Linked DNA regions of Homo sapiens: all the other regions are linked to region 6. Evidence: promoter capture Hi-C in human tissues and cell types (Jung and others, 2019). All regions are on one chromosome and are shown on one strand. The core of a region is centred on a gene start or on the middle of the fragment in contact, and the rest is flanking DNA. Distances in the headings are between cores, read along the strand shown. Region 1 overlaps LOC105377876 (a long non-coding RNA gene). Region 2 has its middle 330 kb from the start of UBE3D. Region 3 has its middle 300 kb from the start of UBE3D. Region 4 has its middle 340 kb from the start of TPBG. Region 5 overlaps LOC105377877 (a long non-coding RNA gene). Region 6 holds the start of TPBG (trophoblast glycoprotein).

The links. Contacts are between HindIII fragments. The study calls those that stand out against the background at their distance.
Region 1: a contact is called between a fragment that was not itself captured here and the fragment with the promoter of TPBG in region 6, in 1 of the 25 tissues and cell types used here (neural progenitor cells).
Region 2: a fragment that was not itself captured here is called in contact with the fragment with the promoter of TPBG in region 6 in 2 of the 25 tissues and cell types used here (H1 embryonic stem cells and hippocampus).
Region 3: a fragment that was not itself captured here is called in contact with the fragment with the promoter of TPBG in region 6 in 2 of the 25 tissues and cell types used here (dorsolateral prefrontal cortex and hippocampus).
Region 4: a contact is called between a fragment that was not itself captured here and the fragment with the promoter of TPBG in region 6, in 4 of the 25 tissues and cell types used here (H1 embryonic stem cells, dorsolateral prefrontal cortex, neural progenitor cells and 1 more).
Region 5: a fragment that was not itself captured here is called in contact with the fragment with the promoter of TPBG in region 6 in 3 of the 25 tissues and cell types used here (heart right ventricle, neural progenitor cells and thymus).

The regions. Positions count from the first base shown.
Region 1 is chr6:82,672,234-82,675,236 of GRCh38, forward strand. All of the region lies in intron 5 of LOC105377876 (a long non-coding RNA gene), which reads right to left. Among named protein-coding and RNA genes, the nearest start is that of TPBG, 310 kb to the left of the region's middle. The HindIII fragment of the contact is 3,199 bases long and covers 116-3,003 here.
Region 2 is chr6:82,737,777-82,741,049 of GRCh38, forward strand. No RefSeq gene overlaps it. Among named protein-coding and RNA genes, the nearest start is that of UBE3D, 330 kb to the right of the region's middle. The HindIII fragment of the contact is 3,795 bases long and covers 1-3,273 here.
Region 3 is chr6:82,763,356-82,766,586 of GRCh38, forward strand. No RefSeq gene overlaps it. Among named protein-coding and RNA genes, the nearest start is that of UBE3D, 300 kb to the right of the region's middle. The HindIII fragment of the contact is 3,848 bases long and covers 1-3,231 here.
Region 4 is chr6:82,697,860-82,701,248 of GRCh38, forward strand. No RefSeq gene overlaps it. Among named protein-coding and RNA genes, the nearest start is that of TPBG, 340 kb to the left of the region's middle. The HindIII fragment of the contact is 5,595 bases long and covers 1-3,389 here.
Region 5 is chr6:82,822,465-82,825,776 of GRCh38, forward strand. The region is part of intron 2 of LOC105377877 (a long non-coding RNA gene); the gene reads right to left. Among named protein-coding and RNA genes, the nearest start is that of UBE3D, 240 kb to the right of the region's middle. The HindIII fragment of the contact is 4,467 bases long and covers 1-3,312 here.
Region 6 is chr6:82,362,334-82,365,345 of GRCh38, forward strand. It overlaps TPBG (trophoblast glycoprotein), which reads left to right and starts at 1,484. Exons shown (of 2, transcript NM_001376922.1): 1 at 1,484-1,575; 2 at 2,290-3,012. The coding sequence starts at 2,629. It overlaps LOC105377875 (a long non-coding RNA gene), which reads right to left and starts at 1,324. Exons shown (of 3, transcript XR_942738.4): 1 at 1,279-1,324. RefSeq lists enhancers at 917-1,430, 1,431-1,942, 2,094-2,996, 2,997-3,012 and a silencer at 2,965-3,012. The HindIII fragment of the contact is 6,837 bases long and covers 1-2,488 here.

The DNA of each region.
Region 1 (3,003 bases), core at 465-2,964, 310 kb after region 6:
CATATGTTTTAGATCCTAACATTTCTCTTGTTTGGAGACTCCAGATGAAATAATAGTTGTGCAAATACTTTGTAAAAAGGAAATCATTATGTAAACATCATATTTTGGAAGTATTTAGTAGTAAAATATAAAACATTATTTTCTTGGTTTGAAATAATAAAAGGAAAATTTCACCACTGAGAATAAAGAAATAAAATCAATTTTTGTACTTACCAAATTTGACAGATTCATGACACATCAATAAGAAATATTTTAAAACCCTTTTTACTGTAACAAAGATGAACCATACTTTTGAAAGATTCAGTTTTTAACAGCTAGAAAGGCACATCAGTATTTTAATTTCTGTAATTCATTTTTGATTCCCAAAGCGATGACTGTAAGATCAGTAATAGGCACACAATCACACAGCCTGAGAATGTACTAATTCAAACTATTGCACTAGTTTCATCTGGTCAGTCAGTTTGTGGTTATCCAAATTAAAGTAGCCTGATAAGGCTGTTTATTTCATAAGTCATCCATTATAAAATATGGAATAGGTTTCAAAACTGTATCAAATGTTGTAGGAATATACCACACAAAAAAATTGGCTAAGTTTCTCCACATGATCCCCTAGTCTCTCCCTTTAATACAGGTATACATTTTTTCTGAAATTTTCTTTATTTAATTTCAATATATCTGTTAGAGATTTCCATGTTAGTTCACATATATCTTCTTTGCTCATTTCATGTATTCTTATCTAATTTAACTTAACCCAACCCAGGTAGTTTCCTTCTCAAAGCCTTTCTCCAGTAGTGTTTGGGTTTCTAAGTACCCTTTCAACCCTAACTATTATGAGATGACAAAAGATGGGCAGTAAATATGTTCCCAACAGAAATGAGTGTTGGCAACCTAATGGATTAAAAAGTCCCAAACTGGAGATACCACCAAGACACTACTTGAAAGTATAATGTTGCCGTTTATTACAACAAAAACAAAGATAAATAGATGGGACTTAAACTAAAGTTTCTGCACAGCAAAAGAAATAATCAGCAGAGTTAACAGACAACCCACAGAGTGGGAGAAAATCTTCACAACCTGTACATCTGACAAAGGACTAATATCCAGAATCTACAAAGAACTCAAACAAATTAGCAAGAAAAAAACAATCCCATCAAAAAGTGTGCTGAGGACATGAATAGACAATTCTAAAAAGAAGATATAAAAATGGCCAACAAACATGTAAAAAATGCTCAACATCACTAATGATCAGGGAAATGGAAATCAAAATCACAATGCAATACCACCTTAATTCTGCAAGAATGGTCATAATCAAAAAAATCAAAAAATAATAGATGTTGGCATGGATGTGGTGAAATGGGAACACTTTTACACTGTTGGTGGGAATGTAAACTGGTACAACCACTATGGAAAACAGTGTGGGGATTCCTTAAAGAACTAAAAGTAGATCTACTATTTGATCCAGCAATTCCACTACTGGGGATCTACCCAGAGGAAAAGAAGTTATTATATGAAAAAGATATTAATACTTGCACACACATGTTTATAGCAGCACAATTTGTAGTTGCAAAACTATGGAACCAGCCCAAATGCCCATCAATCAACAAATGGATAAAGAAAATGTGGTCTATATATACCATGGACTACTACTCAGCCATAAAAAGGAATGAAATAATGGCACTCCCAGCAACTTGGATGGAATTGGAGACCATTATTATAAGTGAAGTAACTCAGAAATGGAAAACCAAGCACCATGTGTTCTCACTGATAAGTGGGAGCTAAGCTATGAGGACACAAGGCATAAGAATGATACAATAAATTTTGGGGACTCGGGGGAGAGGATGGGAGGAGGTGAGGGATAAAAGACTACACACTGGGTACAGTGTACACTGCTTGGGTGATGGGTGCACCGGAATCTCAGAAATCACCACTAAAGAACTTATTTGTGTAACTAAACACCACCTGTTTCCCCAAAACCTATTGAAATAAAAAATAAAGAAAAGAAACAAATAAATCATAATAAAGCTTTCCTGAAGACCAAAAAATAAAACAAAATAAAACCTCTAGAAATAAACCTAGACAGATATGTGGTGAGAAAAAAAAGAAAATTAATGTTGCCATTTATAATTTCCCAGTGTCATTCACCAACCTAGCTGGCTATTGCTTTAGACAAAATGATCACTAATTACAGCAATAGGCTATGAGCCATATTTTTTATAAAAGTTTCAAGGAATCATTTCCTAGCATCATAGTCCCACCTTATACACCATATTGTATCAACACTTTACATTATTGCAAACTTTAGAGGTGTTCTTCGGCCTCTTTTCAATGGTTTCCTTTCATTTGATAATGTTATCCCTTTATCTCTCTGCACTAAAGGTAACATCACACCCCCACATCTGATATAGTTATAGCACCCAGAGCAGAACTTACAATGGAGAACATGATCAATTCTTCCAAAAGTACTGTAGGCCTACCCAGAAGCACAGTCATTATCTTAGCTGCTTCCGTCTAATGATAGAAAAATCTTTTATAATATGTTTGCGTTAGCATTTTTCCAAAAACCCTGAAATTTGAATTTGTTTTACTCCAGAAAGACATTAAGTTGTTTCTGCATTCAAACAACTCTTAATGCAATAGTTCAGTATACCCCAAACCTATGCTATCTCATTTTGTAATTTAATTCCCTCAGTATCATTCACCTTGGTTTTTGTTACTCCCAAAGGATAAAATCTCATTTGTGCAAATTTGCAAAATATCTTTTTATAAAAATCTTTTTTTGCAAACAAGTAATGAGTAGAACTAAAGTTCCCAAGGGGTTTCTGTTTTACACAAAAACAAAATTTGTAGTCCTGAAATGTTGAATGACTAAAATCTATATTTACCTGTTTAATCACTTGCCTTCATAAATCCTCTAGACCTGATATCCCTAATTAAAATTCATAGCATTCCAGGTGTGCACAGATGTGTTAACTGCTAATGCATACTTATCTATTTCAATGAATT
Region 2 (3,273 bases), core at 322-2,821, 380 kb after region 6:
CTCTTAGGATTAAAGTTGGTGATGATGAGCTTCCAACTTTGCTCACAAAAATCTAAGTAAAGTTCAGGTAACATGATCCAATACCGATAAAAGAAGACGGCATCTCTGATTACATTGCAGAAACTAAGTAGGATGCATGCAGGTTGCAACTATATATACTGCAGATGGCAGATGTTAAAAAAAGAGAAAAAAACAACAGAAAACCTACCAAATTTTATTTAGTGGAATAAATAGTTATGAGAATGGCATCAAAATGTAAACCAGACAATGGCTCGGTCAGTTGGAGGAGGGGAAATACTGCAATCAGGATGGCTTTATACAGTTCATTTTCTACATGAACAAATTTTGATATGTAAGAATGTCAGTGCTGACATTCTATAGTAATATCCTAATAGCTTGGAGACCTCCTGGGGATATTATTTCTCTCTCTGCCTATCTGGTGGTATGTGAAACCAATCAGGCCCAAAATAAAACACTGAGAACAGCACAAAATGTAAGAGCAGAGAGAAAAGATGTGTTATCTGGCTGCCCCTGATCCTAAGAAAGAACTAGAAAATTCAGTCTGTATTTGATTTAAGCCAAAGATAGAGGAAAAAAAGAAAAAGAAAACCAATAACAACAACAACAACAACAACAAAACCTCCTTTCTTCCTATTTCTGTTATTAGTGAATTTGGGAAAAGGACAAATACTCCCAACTAGAGTTGAGGACTGAGAGCTGTAATATGAGAATAATTACAAAAGGATCTCCTTCCCCCTATACCCTCCCCTTCTAGGTTAGAGTCTGAGGTGTTTTTGTTTGTTCAGAAGCTCTTTTTTATAAAATTCAATAATTATTTTAAGGAAAAAACTTCTAAATCTAACATGAATTAATATAAACATTATTAATTATACATACATAATAGCTCAAATTGTAGCTCAAATTAACTCCTTCAGTTTAATTAAGTCAGAACTGCTGGTAGTGAGAAAGTTTTTCCTGAAATAAGCATGGTGAAGGCAATTACTCTGCTCTGCTGAGATTGTTGCAGGTGAAAAGCAAGAAGAATGCCCCTCCACCAAAGGACTGTTTATTTTGTGTTTAAATGTAATTAAAGCCAATTCCCATTTCCAATTGCCCTGAGACAAGCAGAATTTCCAGAATAATCTTACTGCTTTGAATTCGACTCAAGAGGGAGCCTAGAGATAGTGCAGAGCTGGGGATAAAGATGGGACATTGTTTCCTTCAGATCAGTATTAGGAAGTGCTTCTGCTTTTCTAGTAACCTGGTAAATGAGAAGATGTCTACTACAGATCATCCAGTGGTAAAGTTATAGTGGAGACATCCACTATAACTTTGATAGAAATCTATCTTTGATAGAAATGATTTAGTAAATACTGGGTATAAATCCTAGCTATGCACCTGATGGTATAACTATAAGCAGCAAGCAGTATAGAAAAAAACGCAAAAGAGATTTTCCACTTGAAGATCCCTCTCTCTATGGAGAGAGCTGTTTCTTATTCTCTTCTCTCCTTCCTATTAAACCTCCACTCCTAAAAAAAGAAAAAGAAAGAAAGAAAGAAAAAGAAAAAATGCAAAAGAATCTACTGCTAATTACTTTGAAAATGCAAACATGGTCTTGATCAACAACAGGAAAGACTTTGTTCTGTCTAGGAGAGACAGAGAAGGAGGAAATGAAGGGAAACCTTCAGCCAACAACACACCGTGTACTTTTTTTGTCCTAAGAATACACATGAATACATTAACAGCATGGGAGCAAGCTAGCAATGTCATTATCCACAGGAGTGTAGAAAGAATGTGAAAACTGTTCAAGTTACTCAAGAAATTCAGGTTAGTACAAGATTACAAACAGCTCTTCCCTCTCCAAACATGCAGAGCAAAAACATCTTTGCACCAATTTTCAAGACATAGAAATACAGCCCTGGTAGCAAGTACAGCCTATAAATATGGACCCAAAAACAAGATTCACAGGAAGCAATTTGTGCAAACACAGTTTAGCCTGTCACTAAGTAGAAAACCCAGCTAGTACCTTCTTGCACTTAAGCCATGAGACAAGAAAATCAAACTAAATGGATTTTCTAAAATCCCTAAATGAAAGCTTATATCCCTTTCTTTGGGAAAGGCAACGAAATAAGCCATTGACATTTTTTCATCCCTAACTCAGTCAGCATTCAAAATGCAGTACAAAACAGAATATTTATCCTACCACCCTTTGCCCAAATACAGATTTCCATAAAATCAATTAATCTTTAGGGTGAAAGGGGACTTGGAGGTCATGACACCCAGTCTCCCACCCAATACTCCTATAGCCAGGAGATTACCCAGCCCGTATTTGAAACACTCCACTTGGGGAGCTTACGACTGCTTCAGGCAGCTTCTTTTACTGACAAACAGTGGCAGTTATTAGAATGTTCTAATATTGGCCTGAAATCCACCTCCTGGTAATTTCCACCCACTGGTCCTAGTTTTGTTCTCTGAAGCATTTCAGAGTCTAACCCTCATCATCACCATGACAACTCTTCAAATATTCGAAGGCAGCAAGAGCTTTCTTCACTCAGGCTGCACATTCCCAGTTTCCACACCTCTTCATTTAGAGCAGAACTCGTATTCCCCAGGACACTATCCCATGACTATGTCCTATTTGGTCAATGTCAATGTGAAAATATACTTACTGGAAGATTCATATAGTATTTAGTATTGCATTTAGTAGTATTAAAAGTAATGGCAAAAACTGCAATTACTTTTGCACCAACCTAATGGATTTAGAGCCCAGTGCAAAGGCTTTTGTTCTTTCTGGAGGAACACATTTTCCTATCTAAGAATATAAACTTTTTTCAATTTCCCTAGTAATACCTGCTACCAGAACCATGAGTGATTGTACTTAACCCTGACACCCCAAGAATAGAAGTGTTTCATAGCAAACATTAGAGTATAAGATTGACTTCAGTCTCAATAAATGGTTTCAAGGACTTATGATATAGAAGGTTTTATGCTAGGGGTTATGGACGATATAAGATGTTCACATCTAGCAGGAAAAAACAGACAAATGCAAAAATAAACTACACAACAATGTAGAAAGAGATAAATCCCCTAAAAGACTTGTAAAAGATTCTTAGATAGGGAAGAAGAAGACACTGCTTCCCCAGAAAGGTCTGGGAAGACTGCCTGGAGGACATGGGAAGAGGTAGGGCTTGAGGGGCTCTGGAAGGATGAGTGAGATTTTAACATGCAGAGAAGCACAGAGAAGAATGAGGGATTCCAAGACAGCAGACAACT
Region 3 (3,231 bases), core at 400-2,899, 400 kb after region 6:
GAACTGGTCAAGGAAGTGAATAATTGAACAATCCACTTATGCATCAATTCTGGAAGAAATAAAAACATTTTCCCTATAAAGAAAGAGTTGTTAGCATTGTATTCCTATAAAAAGGAGAGCATAGTATTATTTACTATAATTTATTAATTATATTTATTATTAATAAATATATTAGCAAACAAAAAGGGGTGTTCTAGAGCATTACTTTACAGCCCTTTAAAATACTGAATTATAGGGGCGTTGATTCCTATTTCTGTATCATAAGCCTCTCGTGTTTTACTTGTAATTTCTTTATAGGAAAAGTCACTATTTTGCCAGTCTTTAAATTCTAGTAATTCAGTTCACTTAGATTGAACAAACTTTTGATGAGCATCTCTGTGACAGGACCTTTGCCAAGGACCGGAGGGATGCAAAGGTGAGTAAGACAGCAAAATGACCCCCAGGAAATTCACAGGAGAGTCTGCATCCATATCAGAATCTTTCACAATTGGCCTGTGGGGCTTTAGCATCTTCTCATTTCTACATGAAGTTATTAGGCTGTGTTTCAAGGTAGCCAGGAGTCATTTGGCTCCTTTTTATTTTCCTTTTTTCCTTTGTCGCCCAGGCTGGAGTGCAGTGGAGTGGTCTCTGCTCACTGCAGCCTCCACCTCCTGGGTTCAAGTGATTCTCCTGCCTCAGCCTCCTGAGTAGCTGGGACTACAGGCACCTGCCGCCACCCCTGGCTAATTTTTGTATTTTTTAGTACAGACAGTGTTTCACCATATTGGCCAGGCTGGTCTCGAACTCCTGACCTCCTGATCTGCCCACCTCGGCCTCCCAAAGTGCTGGGATTACAGGCGTGAGCCACCGCGCCCGGCCATTTGGCTCTTTTGGTTAATGAAGGTTGGAAGCGAGGTCCCAAAGGCATAAAACGTAGTTTTGGTACATGCTCTTTTCTGGTGAGTGATATCAGCAACCAAAATTAGAGTCGTGCCATGCCCAGATCAGGTTTAACACCATTTTATGTACATCAGCGTTACAGCTTCTGTATTCACATTCCCAGCTGGATTTTCAGACAGAGGCACAAAGTTTATATAGGTAGAGTATTGGCTCTACCCCCTTAAAGCTTCATTTTGCATTGACTGGAATTCAGCTGCAGGTCCCTATCAGGTGACTATAAGCAGGTTTAATTGCTCTTACATCCTTTACTAACACTGGAGACAAAAAATATCTGGCATCCCAGTGTTTATAGCCCTGTTATGGCACTCATGGTATTGTTTGTGAGTTTATATATTTACATGTCTATCTTCCTTCTCCAGAATATGAGTTCTCTGAGGGCAGGGATGTGTCTTATTGTTCTTTGTCTCCCTAGTGCTATGCAAAATATCTGAAAATATATTTTTGTTTAAAAGTATTGAATAAATGAAAAAAATAAGGTTACTCAGTGGACAGTCTATCCTGCAAGAATGATATCGAATATTTCTTGTTTTTCATACATGTTCACTCCCATTTCCTAAGGTATTGAATCTTTCACTCTGTACTTAAAGAACATCAATGAAAACCTGGCCTTGATAATATTAGCAACATGGATTAATTCCTCTCTATGTTCCAAATCACATGCTAAGAGTGTGTGTGTGTGTGTGTGTGTGTGTGTGTGTGTGTGTGTGTGTTTACTTACATGTTGCATTATTTTATCCTTACAACAATGCATTAATTAGATACCTTTATCATCACTGCAACACATGAAAGAATCAAGGCCTAGAAATAACAAGCCTATTTCAGGACACAGGGAATACAGGGAAGACATAGGATTTGGATCCACACGCTTATGCCTTTAGAGCCTAAGCATTTAGCTACTATGTTATCCTAAAGGCAGAGTTCTCCAGACTGTGAGAGGTGAGAAAAAATAGTAAAGAAATGTATTAATTTCATGAAATGGTAGAGACAGGCAAGGCAACTTAGAAAACTGTGGCTATGCCTGGAATGCTAAGCTTTGGGTTAGGCAAAACTTAATTCCAGTAATATGGAATTCCTTTGCTTTAATAAGAATAATATACTTGAAAAGTCATTCCATTATGTTTCTTAGGCAGCATTTAGCCACTTACTTATTTACATCATGAGAATAATTAGAACTCATTTTGTAATTTGTATAAATATGCATAATGAACTATTTACAATATAAGAGCCATGATCATGGCATGTAATTATAGCACAATGGATTTTTTTTACAACAGTTGATAAAATTAATCTTTTACTTGGTATTTCAATAATGCCTTTTTAAAAATTCCACTGTTTGTTTAATTATTAATATTTTTATTTCTCTCTAACATTTTTGGTAAAACTCCTTCCCCTTCTCATGGAAATATTTTTAAAATTTAAAAAGTCAGAAAGGCCTAGGTTATATCGTGGCTCTCCCACTCTAGCTGTGTGACATTGGACATGTTACCCTCACTGAGCTTCAGAGCGCCACATGTAAAACAGGAAAAGAAGCCCTAATTTGTGAATTTTTTTGAGGAGAAGAGATAATGTATAAAAATCCCCTAGCCCAAGGTCCAGTCACCTAGTAATGGTGATGATGATGATAACATCAACAACCTTTATTGACTGCTTGCAACTTCCAGGCCCTTGTCTAAGCATTTTACATGAATAAACACATTTACTCAATAGATAGTAGCGGGCAGAAGTAATTGTAGTAGTGGTGGTACTCAGTCTGAGGACCCCATTCCCATGCCCACCATTTCTCCATCAAAAACAGAGCACTGGAAACTTTTAAAACATCTTGTATTTAAAATTTTGATACTCACCCAAATGAGATGAAAATTTACGTTAACACAAAAACCTGCATACAAATGCTTATAGCAGCTTTCTTCATAACTGCCTAAACTTAGAAGCAACCAAAATGTCCTTCAGTAGGTGAATAAACTGTGGTGCATCCATACCATGAAATATCATTCAGTGATAAAAAGAAATGAGCTATCAAGCCACAAAAAGATGTGAAGGAACCTGAAATGTATGGGGACCACACAGGTCCCTGTTAAGTGAAAGAAGAAAGAAGCCAATTTGAAAAGGCTACATCCTGTGTGGTTCCAACTATATAACATTATGAAGAAGGCAAAACAATAGAGACAGTAAAAAAAAGATCAGTGTTTGCTAGGTGTTTTGTAGAGGAAAGAGGGGAATAAATAGGTGGAGCACAAAGGATTTTTAAGGCAGTGAAATTCTTCTGTATAATATAATGGCAGATATTGTCAT
Region 4 (3,389 bases), core at 338-2,837, 340 kb after region 6:
GTGGTCAAATACCCTTGTTTCTGTAAGCCAGCTGAGAACCATAACTCCAATTATACCTAATTGGAAATATATACATACATAGATAGATAGATGCATATATATGCAAAATGCATATATATAAATACATATATATGTATATATATATAAATATATATGTATATATAAATACATATATATGTATATATATAAATACATATATGTATATATGTAAATACATATATATGTATATATATATACACATATATATATAATATTGGAGCTAAAAAGGCTCTCTCAGAGAGCCAGACTGCACATGAAATTCCCAATAAAATGTCTGACACAGCTCTGAACTACAGGGCTTCTCAAATTTATCCACAACTCTGAACTTTTGATGTAGTCCTACAGTGGACAGACATGTTGCTCATAAGGGCAGAAAATAACAGTCTGAAGAAGTGTTCCCAGATCTGGCCTTTTTATTAGAAACCTCACTTATCCAAAGACTGATGCTTATTAAGCTTGACATAACTCCTCCCAGACCTGAGACTTCAGCTTCAGATTTATTTTCCTTGTTGTATTTTATAAGACATGAAAAATTAAACACTCTCATATGTCATTATTATTTGTAATTGCAGGTCGTATTTTGCAGGCTGATTGCTCCCTGCTGCCCCTGTGTTCTATGAGTATGTGTAATTTTGTGCATTAGAGAATTTTCTATTTGTCTGCCAATGGGCTCTTTTGCCAAGATGTAGGCAGGCATAGATATCAAAAGCCTTCAGAGCAATAGCAAAAACAGAAGCTTGATTCAAATCACTTTTATGAAAGGAAACTCTTTTTTTCACATAATTTGGTAGGAATTCATCATTGTGCTACAGAGTGAATGGAGGCTAACAGAAGCAAGAAGGGTCAAAAAGGAAATAGATACAGAACATGGGCTTGAGAGTGGAGGGCATAGAACAGATGAGTGTCAAGGTAGATAAGGAAGATTTTGGCAAGTAAGAATCAGGAGCGAGAATGGCAAGTTTGGGAAACAAGAGTGCAAAATGAGTGAGGGCGCCAAGGTGCCAGATGAGAATGCCTAGAGAGGATGGCAGAGGTGAAACTGGCATTGGTGAAATTGACAGAACTATGTAGGAAGCAGGCCAGACTCAAACAAAACTGAGACCAGCAGCCAAGGCTATGACTATAAGACTAATGGAGATGCAAGACAGTGAGATGGAAGCAAAACAGACAATCAATTTTGACTATTCTAATGAGCCTTAATTAACTACTTTGGCTGAAAACCTCCCATGACAGAACACAGCAGCCTCCAGAGCAGCTTAAAGAAACTGTCAGGATGTACATCAGCTGTTAACAGAACTCATCACTTTAATTTTCTTTAGCCAGTCATTTTCTACTGTATGGGTGAATGGTCAAAGGTGTGAATCTGAATTCACCAAACAAGATGCAAAAAAAAAAATAAAGTTATGAGCTGTATTTATGTTACTAGCAGAAACCTTCCTTAGGAGATCATTAATATTTCAGGAGGTCCAATTAATAAGAACCATTTCTACATAAAATTTTGAATTCCTTAGGCAAGCCACCAGGCTAGATAAAGAAACCCACCAGATGCCTTATAAGTTGTATTATCCTGTTATCCTTAGAAATGAATGGATATTGAATTCAACCCCTAAGTCAGTGGTTCCCACTCCGGATAGCACGTTAGAATTACATGGGGGAAATGCTGATTAGCCTGGGGTGGAACATGAGTATTGAAATTTCTTAGGAGCTTCCTATGTGATTGAAAGGACTGAGAACTATTGCTATGTGGAAGAGACTCAATGAGGAAAACACAGCTCTAACTACCACAATATTAAAAATATGTTTTAAGATGTAGCGAGGATTTCCTAGGATATCATGCAAACTTTGCTTCTACTTCTTTGGGTAAAAGGCATGTAGTGACGTTAGCCAATCTCAATATCATGGGCTCATCTCCTGAGGTTACTATGCCTCTTTTTTCTTTAAAGAAAAAGAAACAAGAGCATGTTGCTTAATCAAGCTTACTTAATTTGTGCATATGTCCAATAAGTTTCAATTGCTTTGTGAGATAGTATTGTTGGGTCCTGTTCCTTTTCTGTCCATTATAATTTGTGCAGCCTAATTTATCCTTTCAGTTTCTGAGTATGTATTCAATGCTTTTAAGTGACAGACAGAGGGGAAATGTCTGTAGTATTTCAAATAGAGATCTAAAGCAGTGGAATGGTTTAACCAAGGCAACTGCTAAAAAGCAAATAGATGGCTTCAGGCCCAACAGAAATAGATATTATATCAAAAGAATGCTTTCTAAAAAGTAATATTTGGAAATGAAGATAAACACAAACTTTGGAAGACTCAAGAATGTCATTTTGATACAGGAACAATGTCTAATGACAATTCAGAAATCATTGGTTAATAAGAAACATATAAGTGTATAAGTATGGCCAGACTTAACTAACTTAGGGTTATATATGCATATTAATTGACAGACATTAGCCATGACCTATAAGTTTAAATGAAAATTAAAATTCTACTAAATATTAGATAAGAATAAATCTTAAGTCTTATAAAGCACTATAGGCATATGAAGAGAGTAGTACTATAATGTTAGCATGAATATTATTCATTTTGACTTCTTAGTTAAATTATCCCCTGGTCTAAGATTATATTCAAAGGCAAAGTACTATTCAAATTCATCTAAGGTGTAAAAGCAAGAACAAAGACCCAGCAAATTGAGGTCATTCAAATATATTTTTAAAATAATAAGCACAATAAATTAAAGCAAGAATTCTCAAGGAAAGATTAGATTTTCTTGCCCTACATAAAAATCTTTGAAACACTTAGCAAAAATAATTCAAATGGCAAAGTACAAACTGAGGGTCTTTTAGGGCAGCTTGGCAATGGAAGGGCCAAGGAAGGATAAGAGGAGCATATGGTCAGCCAGCATGAGTCAAGGAAAGATCATAAGTAATCAGAGAAATCGAAGAAGTATCCAATTTTTATTTTGATCTGGTTTCAGCATTGCAAGACATGAAAATTTTCTCACTGGAGCATAATAATAAGGGTTTTGAGGATGAAATCTAGATTTCCTTTGGAAAGTCATTTCACATTGAAATGTCAGTTTTATTTATGTGAATATAAACTTGAATATGCGCATTTGTTTTCTATTGCTGCTGTAACAAATTATGAAAGTTTAGCTGCTTGAAACAACATAAATTTATTATATTATACTTCCATAGGTTGGAAGTCCGGTACAGGTCTTATGAACTAAAATCAAGTTGTTGACAGGGCTGTATTTCTTTATGGAGGCTTCGGGGAAAAATCTGTTTCCTTGCCTCATCTAGCTTCTAGAAGCTGCCAGCATCCCTCGGCTGATGGCCCCTTCCTGCTTCTTTTTT
Region 5 (3,312 bases), core at 151-2,650, 460 kb after region 6:
AGACCTCATCTCTACAAAAAATAAACAAAATTAGCTGGGCATGGTGGGACATGCCTGCAGTCTCAACTGCTTGGGAGGCTGAGGTGGGAGGATGGCTTGAGCCTGGGAAGGCAAGGCTGCAGTGAGCCAAGATCATGTCTCAAGAAAAAAAAAAAAAAGAAAAGAAATAAAAATGATTTTTATTGAAAAGGATGTGATTTCTAAAAAGAAAGCTTTGTTTATAAAAAATTTTTAAAGGATTTTTAAAAAGTTTAAATGATCATACATTTAACAGTTAACATCAAACATATATTAGCTTGTAAGTATCTATTAACCTAGAAAGTAGGTTTATGTTCCAAAGTAAATGTGGATGAAAAATAAGAGAAAATTAATTCTGATTTGCTATTTCATTATACTTTCTATTGGATGTTTGGATTTTTAAATTTCCATTGACCTTTAAACTGTTTATGTATCACAAGGCACATTTTTAAATGTTCTTTTGGACACATCCCTAGACAATTTAAAAGAAACAAGCTAATCCTGGATATCAACTACAGCACACACATTGAAGTTTACCAAACACCATGTAAGGGAAATGTGATTCCTGAGTCATAGGGTCTAAAGAATTGTAGACATGAAAGTTATTTTAAAAGTTGGTCATTTTTAATTAGCTCCTGTAACATCATTTGTCATGGTAAAGTGTGAGAGACCTGTTCATAAATATTGGAATTTGAAGGTTGCATTTATAGATAACATAGCTTCTAGGCTTTTTCTAACTGGTCAATTGTCTACAAGTCGTCTGTCACAAGGACTAGACACACATTCTTATAGCTCTCAAAAATATTCATTTCTAGAAGATCATAGTCACAGTTCCTTAAAAGAAAAACATTAAAAGACATGTGTTATTAAAAAATTAATATGTCTTTTTACCAATATGAAGTTCCTGGATTTCATTTGCCACACTGTTCAATGAGTTAAATGTCAGAAATCAGTAACAAAGCCTATATGTTCCATGCCATCTCTGACAACAGTGTAAATTAAAAGGCTGTCAAGTTATTTAGTTTTAAAGATGAAGGTAGACTTTCTGGCAGTCACATTTTCCATCACTGATGACTCTGACCATATCCAAAGAGGATATGAACTAACAAAACCCAGACAGGGCAGGAAGGAGAAGGACAAAAGGAAGTAAAAAGCATAATGAAAAACAGAAAAAGAACAGTTTCCATAGCAGAAATAGAAGTAATGGAAGTAAATAGTTATTTTTCCAACTACCTTGAATATAAACAGAACTCAAGAAAATCAGAAATTTTTTTTTTCAGTAAGATACAGTAAATAAACAAAAAGACATCCCTTCAGAATCAGCTGTTTTTAACTTAAATGCAATTGTCCTTGTGGGGAAAAACACACTCTAAGCAAACGTTTTCAAACTGCATTATAAATACAGATTATATTTCATGTCTTAGTGTTAGGAATGGCTGAGTACGCCTGCTAGACATTTGGCTCTCCTACCCAATCCAAGCAGTGGTACCAAGGCAGCAGCTCTGATGAAATGATTTGAGAATGAAAGGAGGATTTGGGAAACTAATTGGATTTCTTATCTAACTTGTCCTTTTGGAAAGAAATGAGTCTCATTTCTTTCACGAAAGTGAATTCTAGAATTAGGATTCATTTATGCTAATTTCTGTATAGATATCTGGTTGTGCTATTTTTATATACAATATCATATCTGTATATTTTCCCACAAAAATACTAAAATGAACAATCACACAAGCAAAGATTAGTGTTAATCTGTTCAGATGTCAAATTCCTATAGAGGTTAAAGACTAATACTTGATGGTGTTTATACTGTTACAGTGAGATACCATTAAAATAGATGGATTTAGAATACTGCTGTCAAAATATGCTCCCTAAATTGTAATTCAATACAGTAAAATTTCTGATTCAATAAGGCCCAGTGTGACTGTCAGGTAACATTACCTTGTAATGGATTCCACTACATACACGTTTATCCACACAAGCACATTAATAAATGTATAGGCAAAATGCCATGTTTTGAAAAATTGTGAACAGTAAATAGCATTCGTTTCTGATCTTTCTATTATTAATTTTTGTTTCTTCTGTAGCTGTCATGTATAACTAGGCTGTTTGCATTATATGAGCATTCCCCAGAATACAATATTTAAGAAAGAATTCTACAAATCCAAGATAGCAGTGTCCACAGGTCCCAGACATATGGTATATACTTGTCCTTTGAGTTACTGCTTGCTTAAAAAAACCAGAGTGGTTTCCAGCACAGACACAAGATGGGACAACTCCTAATGCACTTCCCTTCTTGGGTACTTTCTAGGTAACTGACATTGTCCAGCAGGTGTATATTTCTTCTCATTTGAGAGTCAAACGCAGAAGCTAGCATTGATTATGAATATGTGACAGAAAGAACATAGTAACATGTACAATGAGTTCAACCAAAAAAAACCCTATATATTCTTTCTGGGTTATGTGGTACTTTCACATGCTTAACAATACTGTAGATACCATTCTATAGTTTGCATGGGTTTAAGGTGATTCCAGACCCATCATCTTCCACTTCCCCTTCCATTCCTTTCCCTTCCCTAGAAACTTAGTTCTAAAGCCATTAGGTAGGACAGAATAACATAGGTGTCCAGACCAGGACGGGGACAGGAGGCACAGTGGTCCACAGCAGGTATCAGAGCCCAAGGAGGGTGAGGAAGGTATACGTGTCAGAAAGGACCCTGTGTGGGGTGTCAGAGCCAGAGCTGGGTGATGAGGGAACATGCCCAATGAAGGGTGTGATAGCTGTGATAAGAAATTGGTGACTTTTGGGAGAACTGATCAAATAAAAAATACATTAAGCATACTGGGTACCAGGTGTCTCCCTGTCAGAAAAGGGAACTACCAATATGAAAAGAGAGGAAACTAGCATGAGGCCTGTGGTGTTGGATTGGAAGGTATCAGGGTGAACTCATAGTTTTGTGTGTGTGTGTGTGTGTGTGTGTGTGTGTGTGTGTGTTTTCATACAGAAATAGATATACATAAAAATGTGTGTATACATGTATGTATTCACACACACACACACGTATATTCTCTAGCTCTGTCTACTGATATTGTGATCCCAGTAGCAAGGACCATATGAGCACTCAGATCTGAATACCGTTCTTCACTGAAAGAAATGAGAGCTCCTTGGAAAAGTGGCTAATTCCAGGGCCAGAGCAGGGAAAACATGAAATGAGCTGGATGGCACATCTTGTTGTGCCAGAAAACAAGAAAATGCTCACAGAATGAATGAGATATTTCAAAAGAATACAGAAATCA
Region 6 (3,012 bases), core at 234-2,733:
CACAATCCGGATACAGAACATGACTACAGCTTTAGAGATTCTTTTTCAAAGTGTTTTACATTCATGTTGCAAAACACTTTTAAAAATAAGAAAAGAGATGTAGATAAACGTGCTGAAGATGCAAATTAATGAAACCAGCTTTTGTGCACAAATCTCTGCAGTTTCCAGTGTTTTCAGCTTTTGTCTGAGCCATTTTTGCTGTCGGCTTTGCAGACTATCTCTTTCTATAAAAGTAATCAGGCGTCCGTTGGAGAGTTGGGGTCTTTCTTCACACTAAAGGCACATGTCCCAGGCACAAGCCTCAGGATCCTTATTTGATCTTTTTTAATACGACCAGGTCTTAAATTTCCGAACCATGTTTTCCCTAATTGCCATTTTCTCTCTAAAATGAAGAAGCCTGGAAGAACCTTCTTATCCCTTCGGGGAAATTATTTAATTGGGACAAAGGGGATGTGGAGTTACAGAGAGCAACGATAGGGCTTTCAGAACCCAAAACCTGTCTGGTATAATAACAGATCCTTCCGGTAACCAACCATTCAATTTGTCCCTCTCCCCAACCCCATCCTCTCCATCACCATCTGCCAGATGCCCCCTGGGACAATCGACTTTGAAACCAAACTTCTCTCCCAGGTCAGCTCCTGCAATCCCCACTCCTCATCCTTGGAGCTTTCTCCACAGAAGTGACTTGACACACCGCGCTACATCTGGGGAGGGGGGCGGGTCCGCTTTCCGGGAGACTCAAGTCTTTGCTATTTGCCTTTTGTTTCTGGGATGCCTTTGGCTGCCTTTCTCTTCCATCTGCTTTTAATTTTGGTAAGAGAAAAGCTAATGAATCAGGAATGAATCTCCTCTCCACTAATCTTTTTTTTTTCTTTCTCTCTCTCTCTCTCTTAAAGTTGGCGCGCTCTCTTCACAAGTTCCATCACTACCCAAGAAGTGAGGGGGCGGGGGGGACAGGCGGGAAGGCATTAATTACACCTAAATCTGAAGTTTGCGGCCTCAAGTACCACTTTGATGGGGAGAGCTTCTGAAGCTTCCATACAACCTGCCGTGCCTTTGCTGCTGCCGCAGTAGATTTTCAGCTCATTTCTTTCTGCTGCTGCTTCGCGCTGCTCTGTCATGCCTAAATCTATCTCGTCACTGCCAAAGGTGCCTGAATCAGGGTGAATTCCACGAGATTCACCAGCGGTTTTGCTCCAGTCCAAGGTAAATACAGTATGCAAAATGAGGAACCACCCAAGGATGTCGGGGAGGGGGGAGAGAAAGGGATTCCCTCACCTTTTCCGGCACATTCCTCGTTAATTTCCACCAGGAGGAGGCGCGCAGCCCAGCTCCCCTAGTCTCTCTTCTTAAATCCCCCTACCTACGGCTGCCGAGGTTGGCCGCGCGTCGGGAATCTCCCCGACAGTCCTGGCCCTCCCCCGCCCCCCGGGTTGGTTTTTCCCAGCTGCGGAGGTTGGGAGGTTGGGCCAGGGGCTGGGGTGCGAAGAGAGTCGGCGCCCGCAACGCGGAGCCGGGAAGTCGTCGCTACTCTGGTGGAACTCAGAGTTGGTTCTGGAGGCGGCGGACGCGGAGGTGAGCAGTGGGAGCCCGCGGCCTGGGAGAGACCCGGGAGGCGTCGTTGGGGCCCCTCCCCATCCTCGGGTGGAGAGTAGGGTTGGTTCGGGTTGCCACTGTACCCCGAGTCCCACTGCTGCTTTGTTCCCAGACTCTCCCCTCCTCTTTGGAGATGACTTGAACCCCTTTGAGATCCGAGGGGCTGGCGGGGCGCGGGCTGGGGGGCGACAGTTGTAGCTCCACTTCCTGCTAATGCGAGAAGGTACAAAAAGAGATCAAAAAGTCCTGTAACCTGAAACTTCCCTCGCATCCTAACCGGGACCTGGTGGAGAGGTCTGGGCGGGGGCGGAGACACCCGGAGGCCGACCTTCCGCCGAGGCGGTGCAGGAAGGAACGGGAGAGGGAGAAGTTTGGTAGGGAAGGAATTGGGGATTAAGCGGTAAGTTAGACGCGGGAGACGAGTCTCCTCGGGAAAGGCGGAGGGCGGGAGGCCGGTCGGGTTTATTTAGTGTGGGCCAGGGAAGAAGGAAGACTTTGCGGTCTGGGTGTCGGATGCGCGTCCCCCTCCGGAGTAAAAGTGACCGGAGGGGTTGGGGAGGCGAGGCCGGGGCGGGCTTTTGGAAGGAGGTCTCTGGGACAGACTGGAGACGACTAGACTCGAAAAGGCCGGTTTTTGCACTCCGGAAGCCGCGGCAGCCACCGCTGTTCACGCCTCTCTCCTGCTTGTCCCAGGTCCCTCAGAGGATCCAGCGAGGGGCGCCAACAAGAGGCGAAGAGGTGGCACCAGGGCGGCGGCAGGAAGAGGAGCGGGAGCAGGAGCGCGGAGCGGAGCGTCCCGACCCGCCGTGCGTACTTTCTGGAGGGAAGGGGCGGGGGAATCGGCCCCTGAGGGAAGCGCCCGGTGGCGAGGGGGTTAGCCAAGTTCCGGCTGCGGCGCCACTCCCTCGGTTCCACGAGAGGAAAGTTTTTTTTTTCCAGACGCTTCCGCCGGCTCGCGCCCTCCGGGCCCAGCCTCCCGAGCCTTCGGAGCGGGCGCCGTCCCAGCCCAGCTCCGGGGAAACGCGAGCCGCGATGCCTGGGGGGTGCTCCCGGGGCCCCGCCGCCGGGGACGGGCGTCTGCGGCTGGCGCGACTAGCGCTGGTACTCCTGGGCTGGGTCTCCTCGTCTTCTCCCACCTCCTCGGCATCCTCCTTCTCCTCCTCGGCGCCGTTCCTGGCTTCCGCCGTGTCCGCCCAGCCCCCGCTGCCGGACCAGTGCCCCGCGCTGTGCGAGTGCTCCGAGGCAGCGCGCACAGTCAAGTGCGTTAACCGCAATCTGACCGAGGTGCCCACGGACCTGCCCGCCTACGTGCGCAACCTCTTCCTTACCGGCAACCAGCTGGCCGTGCTCCCTGCCGGCGCCTTCGCCCGCCGGCCGCCGCTGGCGGAGCTGGCCGCGCTCAACCTCAGCGGCAGC